Regions from separate parts of the Homo sapiens genome. Here region 2 is linked to region 1. Evidence: promoter capture Hi-C in 16 types of primary human blood cells and fetal thymus (Javierre and others, 2016). All regions are on one chromosome and are shown on one strand. Each heading gives the region's core, a stretch centred on a gene start or on the middle of the fragment in contact. The rest is flanking DNA. Distances are from core to core; before and after follow the strand shown.

Evidence for each region. Contacts are between HindIII fragments. The CHiCAGO score rates a contact against its expected background, and 5 or more counts as called.
Region 2: a fragment that was not itself captured here is called in contact with the fragment with the promoter of RASD1 in region 1 in 3 of 17 cell types (endothelial precursors, erythroblasts and megakaryocytes); the score reaches 5.7 in endothelial precursors.

Annotation. Positions count from the first base shown.
Region 1 is chr17:17,494,329-17,497,737 of GRCh38, forward strand. It overlaps RASD1 (ras related dexamethasone induced 1), which reads right to left and starts at 2,067. Exons shown (of 2, transcript NM_016084.5): 1 at 1,568-2,067; 2 at 109-1,356. The coding sequence starts at 1,853. The coding sequence ends at 797. RefSeq lists silencers at 1,998-2,217, 2,378-2,507, 2,558-2,787. The HindIII fragment of the contact is 31,419 bases long and covers 1-3,409 here.
Region 2 is chr17:17,528,031-17,531,212 of GRCh38, forward strand. The region is part of intron 2 of PEMT (phosphatidylethanolamine N-methyltransferase); the gene reads right to left. Among named protein-coding and RNA genes, the nearest start is that of RASD1, 33 kb to the left of the region's middle. The HindIII fragment of the contact is 1,809 bases long and covers 928-2,736 here.

The DNA.
Region 1 (3,409 bases), core at 817-3,316:
GGAAGGTAAGTTCTAGTTCCACCTAAGTCAAAGCCCAGCCCTTTCCTTCTCCCCACCCTTCCCCACTCCAGCCATCTCTAAAAGCAAAAAAAAAAAAAAAAAAACCGGTTTTCCATTTTAAATTATTTTATTGTATATTAAAAAACCAAATAAAGCAATAACTTTAAAGACCTCAGACACACACAGTATAAACACCTGGGTAAGGTTTTGTTCGTGTCCATGTTGACACCGGAACTACCGTTAAAGTGCAAGTTTTGTTTTGTGTTCCTTTGTGCAGTTTCACTCACATGTAAACAAGTCACTTGGCTATGATTTGACCCACGCCCCCCCGCTTAGTTTTGGGAGGGCAGAGGCTCTACCGGCTGTCACAGCAACCCGGAATCACAGACAAGATAATGCCCCGTGGGTCCTGACCCTCAAGCGGGCATGACGGTTTCTTGAAGCCTAGCAGAGGCTGGATAACTTCACATCCCTCCCCCACCCCGCGCTCACTCTTAGGTCTTTGAGAAGATAAATCCACCCTCGGCTGGGCCCTCGCTCCCAAAGTTATGGGGGTGGCGGGCCTCAATGGGGGACCGGGGGTGGGGAATAGTCCCAGTCTTGGCCCGTTCTCTTTCCTTCCGGAGCAGATGACCGTCCCTTCTCGGTTCAGTGGCGCCTCCCCAGTGCTGGGGGCGGATCGCCGGGAGGGGAGACGCCAGTCCGCGCGCGCTCCCGGCCTGGGGCGCACCGGGCCGTTGGATTTGACTTAACAAAAAGGTCCTCCTTAGGTTGTGTCGCCAGCGCGGCGGGGCTCCTAGCTGATGACGCAGCGCTCCTTGTCCTTGGCCTGGCTGCCGGCGCTGGCCTTCTCGCGGATGTACATGAGGTCGCTGTGTACGCTGGGCCGGCGCGCGAAGGGTGCCACGATGCCAAAGGCGTCGCCCGGGTCGCCGCCGCCGCCGCCGCTGCCGGCCCGCAGCAGCTTCTTGTTCCGCAGCGCCTTCTTGTGCAGCACGTCGCAGTACTGCACCGAGACCTTGCGGTGCAGGTCTGGGCTCATCTCGCTGGGCAGCTTGGCCATGGCGAAGAGCGCGCGGAACATCTGGTCCAGGCTGCTGTTCTTCTTGGCCGAGATCTCGAAGTAGGCGCAGCGCTGGGGGTCGTCGCCCACCAGCTGCTCGATCTCGCGCTGGTCCACCTCGCGGTAGAAGTCGCGGTCACCCTTGTTGCCGCAGATGACCAGGGGCACGTCCACGTTCTCCTTGGTTTTGTTCTTGAGGCAAGACTTGGTGTCGAGGATCTGCTGCCTGAGCCGCTGCACCTCCTCGAAGGAGTCGCGGTTGTCCAGACTGAACACCAGGATGAAAACGTCTCCTAGAGGGGGCACAGAGAGCAGAAAAGGAGAAGGTGAGGGTGGCCGCCCAGGGGACAAGTCGGGCTGACTTTGAGGCCGCGCGGGGCGCGCTAGCCTCTCTAAGCGCGAAGCGCACTACTCGGCGCGCGGCAGCCGGACCGGCGCTCGCGGGGCGCCCTGGCCGAGGGTTCCCCGCCCTTCCCTCCCGCACCTGCCCGGCCCCCGGCTCACCTGTGAGGATGGAGAGGCGCCGCATGGCGGGGAACGGGTGGTTGCCGGACGTGTCGAGGATGTCGAGCTGGTAGACCTCGCCGCGGATGGAGTAGAACTTGCGGTGGAAGTCCTCGATGGTAGGCGTGTAGGCGTCCTCGAAGCGGCCGGTGAGGAAGCGCGACACGATGGCCGTCTTGCCCACCTTGGACGAGCCGAGGATGACCATGCGATAGCAGTTCTTGGCCGGGATACTCAGCTCCGAGTCGCTCGGGCACATCTTCTTGATCATCGCGGCCAGTTTCATTGGGCAGAGGGGCCGCGAGGGCGGGCGCGGGGCCGAGAGAAGGGCAGAGAGCGGCTGAGGGTCGCTGGGGTGGCACGCGGGGTGAGCGGCTGGAGGGCTCTGCTCGGGCTGGGCGCGGCTCGGGCTTGGGGCTCCGGCTCCGCTCGGGCTGGGCTCGGGCTAGGCTGGGCTCGGCTGGGGTTCTCCCAGGATCTGGGCACAGGCCGCTTGCTCTGGCTTTGGCGCCCGGCCGCCGCCCTTATATGCAGCCTGCTCGGCTGCCCCGCCCCGGCCCTCCCAGCTCGGTGCGTCACGCCCCGCGGGGCCCGCCTCCCCCGCACCGGCTCCCAGTCCCGGCGACCTCGTCACCCGCTGCCGGGCTCCTGCTCTCTGGGCGCGGGGGCTGGGGGGAGCAGTCCAGGGTCGGGCTGAGGCTGGAGGCGCTCGGACTCCGCTTTTCCACTGCCGCGGGCTCGGCGGCCGCAGGGGCGTCGGGGTTCTGGTCCCGGCGGTGCCCCTGTCCCTCTGCGACTTCGGGCAAGGACCCCCATTCCTGCACCTCCCGCGCGCGTACACTTATTTTCTTTGGTTCTCAGTTTCCCCAGAGAATAGGAATCTAGTAAGTAACCCAGTAAGCGCAGCAGCGTTTGCTGAGTGCTTGCGCGGACCGTATATTGCAGTCCTCAGAGCACAGCCCCAGCCCCAGCCCCCTTCCGCTCCGGTCCCCAGCCGGGCTCTTGTTCCCGGGAGGCGACCGCCGGGCGGACGCGGGGTTTCAGGGCCTCAGGCGCGGAGCTCGGCACCGCGCGCTCGGGCCGCCAGAGGGCAGCAGAGGGCCCGGCCGGCGGCTCGGGGAGGCTGTGGCCGCCGCGGGCAGAGCTAGAACAGAGGCTAGGAGCAGGCGGGTGGGGAGCGGCAGGGATGGAGCAGGGGTCTCAGGGCGCCTTGCTGGGGCCCAACAGGAGCGGTCCCCAACCCCGCGCTCTGCTGCAGGCCTCAGCCTGCTCCTTTCTCCCAGCCAGAGATGCTCTGTGGTATGGAGGGCTCTGCAGCCAGCGGCCCACCCCGTCCATCATAGCATTTTGGGCTTTTACTGTGCCGCGCGTGGGCCGACGTTCTCATTGTCTAGCTGAGAGACCTGGAGCTCAAAGCCACAGCGAGCCAGGAAGGCCCTGGGAGCACAGCACAGCCTCTTGCTTTCTCCTGGGCCTCAGTTTTCTCTTCTGGAAGATACTGATTCTGGTTCTGTGATTAAGGATGAAAATATGCAAATGCTTTAGGAGGGCGGGGCCTGGTAATAACAATAGCAACAATAACAGTAGTATTGACCCATGAGGCCTGGTGGGGGTACTCTCAAGAGCACACCAGGTCGATCAGTAACCAGGAGTGGGGTGATGTTGCTGAACATTGGCAACAGGCTGTCTGGAGCCAGCTCCTCAGCCCTGAGCTCTTGAGGCAGTCACTGCTCCTCAAGGCAACCTGTGTGCTCAGTGTTTTGCTTTGGCCACGTCTGACTTACGAGAAAACTAGGGAGCCATTAGCTGGCACCACCGGCCCAGCTGTCAGGTGGTGGTCTG
Region 2 (3,182 bases), core at 582-3,081, 33 kb after region 1:
CAAAGGGCTAGTGCTTCGCATTGGTAATGAATGCTGGGGAGGAGCTGGTGTTTCCACGAGCTTTGCCAAGGGCCCACGGAACCACTGAAGGAGCCCATCCCTTTTGTTTAGAGGACGTGGGCCGTGCGCCAGCACAGAGGGGCTCATGAGCTCCAAGCTTCCTTCTGCCTTCCTGCTTTTGCCTCCCGAACCGCCCCCATCTCGCTTCTACAGCTGGACCCACCCCTCTGCCTGCCTGACTGGCCCCCTTTCCAGCCCCAGGAGCCGCAGCCAGTGCCTTCTCACTCCTGAACTCCTGCCTTGCGGCTCCGGCAAGATGTGGCTGTGGCCTAACAGTTCACACTGTGTCCACCTCTGCCTGCACTATGCTGAATCCCACGTGGGGCTACCACCCGAGGAGGCACTCAACAAGCACGGGTCTGTGTGGAATGATGGATACATCAGCGCTCCGAGGCCTTCTCTCCTCTCCTCTTTCCCTCGCCTTGCAGGGAGCCAGGAAGGGAGGGGGCCACTAGCTGGGCTCCATGAAGAGAGGAGGGGCCCTAAGGCCCCCAGGGTACCTGTAGGTGACATACAAATGTCTGAGTGAGACGTCCCCGGGGCAGCAGGGAGTCTGCCCATGACTCCTGTCTCTCCCTCATCCCACCCTGGCCCCCCAGAACCTATGAGAGGTCAGGGACCTCAGAGGCGGTGGAGCCCAGCCCTCCATTGGCCTTCTGAACAGAAACTCAGGGCTCCACTGGCATCAGGAGGTGGGATTCAGGATCCCCCAGTCCCACTGGAGTTGACAAGGATGGCTGAGGCTGCCAAGGCTACTGGGCATCCCCTAGGCCGGCCCCGATGGCCCAGGCCCAGCAGCATGAGGACAGCCCATCGAGGCATTTCCTCCCCAGCCCCAGATCAAGGTCACTGTGATACCGTCACATAAGCTTCATGTGCACGCCAAGTGCTGTCCACACCGCGCATCCCAGCGGGGCCTGGACCCCTCTCCCTTCTCACCAGGGCTCATAGTGGATGGGGTGTGTTTGTGGGAGCTCAGCAGAGCCCAGCACAGGACCCAGTCACTGCCAGCTAGGCAGGCCCTGGGCCAGCAAGCAAGTGCATATATGAACAGGCGGCTCTCCGAGGTCGCACCGTGTCAGCCCCCTCTGCTCTGCACACGCTAGGCCCAGCCGGCCCGGTGACCTGGATCACACCTGCCCTTCCCAACACCCAGTTCCACCTGTCCTGCCAGGTGTGCACAGCCCTGGCTCCTTTCAGATCTGCCCCAATCTGGCCAGTGCTGCTGAACCTGGGCCAGGGCCTCTCCAGGACATAGGACCAGTGGCAGCTCAGGGCAGCATCCAAAGCGTCCCACAGCACATGGCTCAACTGCCCTTCCACGTGACACAGCCTGCTCGAGGGCTCCAACAGTCATTGTCTCCAACAGATCAACAGACCTGCCCACTCCACCAGCTAGTCCAGTGAATCAATCCCTGTCCAAGGTGCACCCAAGCTCTCGCCCTGCAGTGAGCACACTAGTGCCAGAGAGCAGGTCCCAGCACCAGCTGCCCACTTCCAGACAACCTGCACCCGAGGCCCCAGCAAAGCAACATGACCCAGCTTCACACCCGAGGGGCCATGGCACAGCGGGGGACACTCGCCTCCCCCAGCCTCAGTGCTCATGCTCAACCTCTTCACTCCGTTTTGCTCCCCGCCTCCTCCATTATGACGGCCCACAGAGCACAGGAGAAAGAGCAATAGGAACATGGGCTCTGAGTTCAAATTCTAGCTCCAGCACTACCTATAGCATCGTATAAAGATGGAACCCACCCCAGTGTCCACTGGCAGGGGGAGGGGCTGAATGAACTGCGCTACAGCCCCACCCTGGAGAAGGGCTCCTTGTAGAAAGGAGGAAGATTTCTATCTATTGCTATGGTGTAAGCTCCAGGATATATTCATTAAGTAAAAAAGCAAGTGCGGAAGGTGCACCCATCCTGTTGTATAAGGACATGAAGAGGGGCTGGGGGAAGATACACACACAGACTTGCTTACATTTTCAAAAAGCAACAGGGGAAGGACAAACCCAAAACTGATCAAAATTATTACCTACAGGTGAGGGAGGAGACATGCCAGACATTTACAAATGTCCTTTGTTGACTATGGAACCATGTAAATGTTTTGCATAATTAAGAGTAAGAACAGGGCAGGCACAGTGGCTCACACCTGTAATCCCAGCACTTTAGGTGGCCGAGGCGGGCGGATCACCTGAGGTCAGGAGTTCAAGACCAGCTTGACCAACATGGTGAAACCCCGTCTCTACGAAAATACAAAAATTAGCCGGGCATGATGGCGGGTGCCTTTAATCCCAGCTACTTGGGAAGCTGAGGTGGGAGAATCCCTTGAACCCCGGAGGCGGAGGTTGCAGTGAGCTGAGATGGCACCATTGCACTCCAGCCTGGGTGACAGAGAGACTCCGTCTCCAAAAAAAAAGAGAGAGAACAAAGGAACTACTAGAAATCCAAAAACTCAATCAATAAACCTGGTAAAAACACAGATAAGAAGTTTCAAGTGATTTTGAAATACAGTATTTTGACTAATCCTCCCTCCTGCCGCACAGCCTGAGGACAAAAGAACCAGAAAGATTCTAGACTGCATCGAGTAAATCTATTGTTGGTGATAAAATATTTAATAATACAGATATTATTATTATTTTGACTATATACACATTAATTATGTTACTGTATTTAGGATCCAAGCTTCCTATAAAAGTGGTACAAAAATGAAATTGAAAGGTTGAACAAAAACTTTTGAAGTGGAAATATTGGTATGAATTCATGATTTATTTCTATTTCTAAAAAATTCATTTTTCCATTACAAAAAATTGGCCGGGCGTAACGGCAGGTGCCTGCAATCCCAGCTACTCGGGAGGCTGAGGCAGGAGAATTGCTTGAACCCAGGAGGCGGAGGTTGCAGTGAGCCGAGATGGTGCCACTGCATTCCAGCCTGGGCGACAGAGTGAGACTCCGTCTCAAAAAAAAAAAAAAAAAAATCATTTTTCCTAGAGAGGCCTGGAACAGTGAGCACCCTAGCATTCAAACTGTGGTCTCCAAATATCATTTTCCACTAAAAATAACCAGAGCTCCTTGGTTAAAAGGCCGATTCCAGTCTACTCTGGGAACAGAAGATGTTGAACCTGAGAC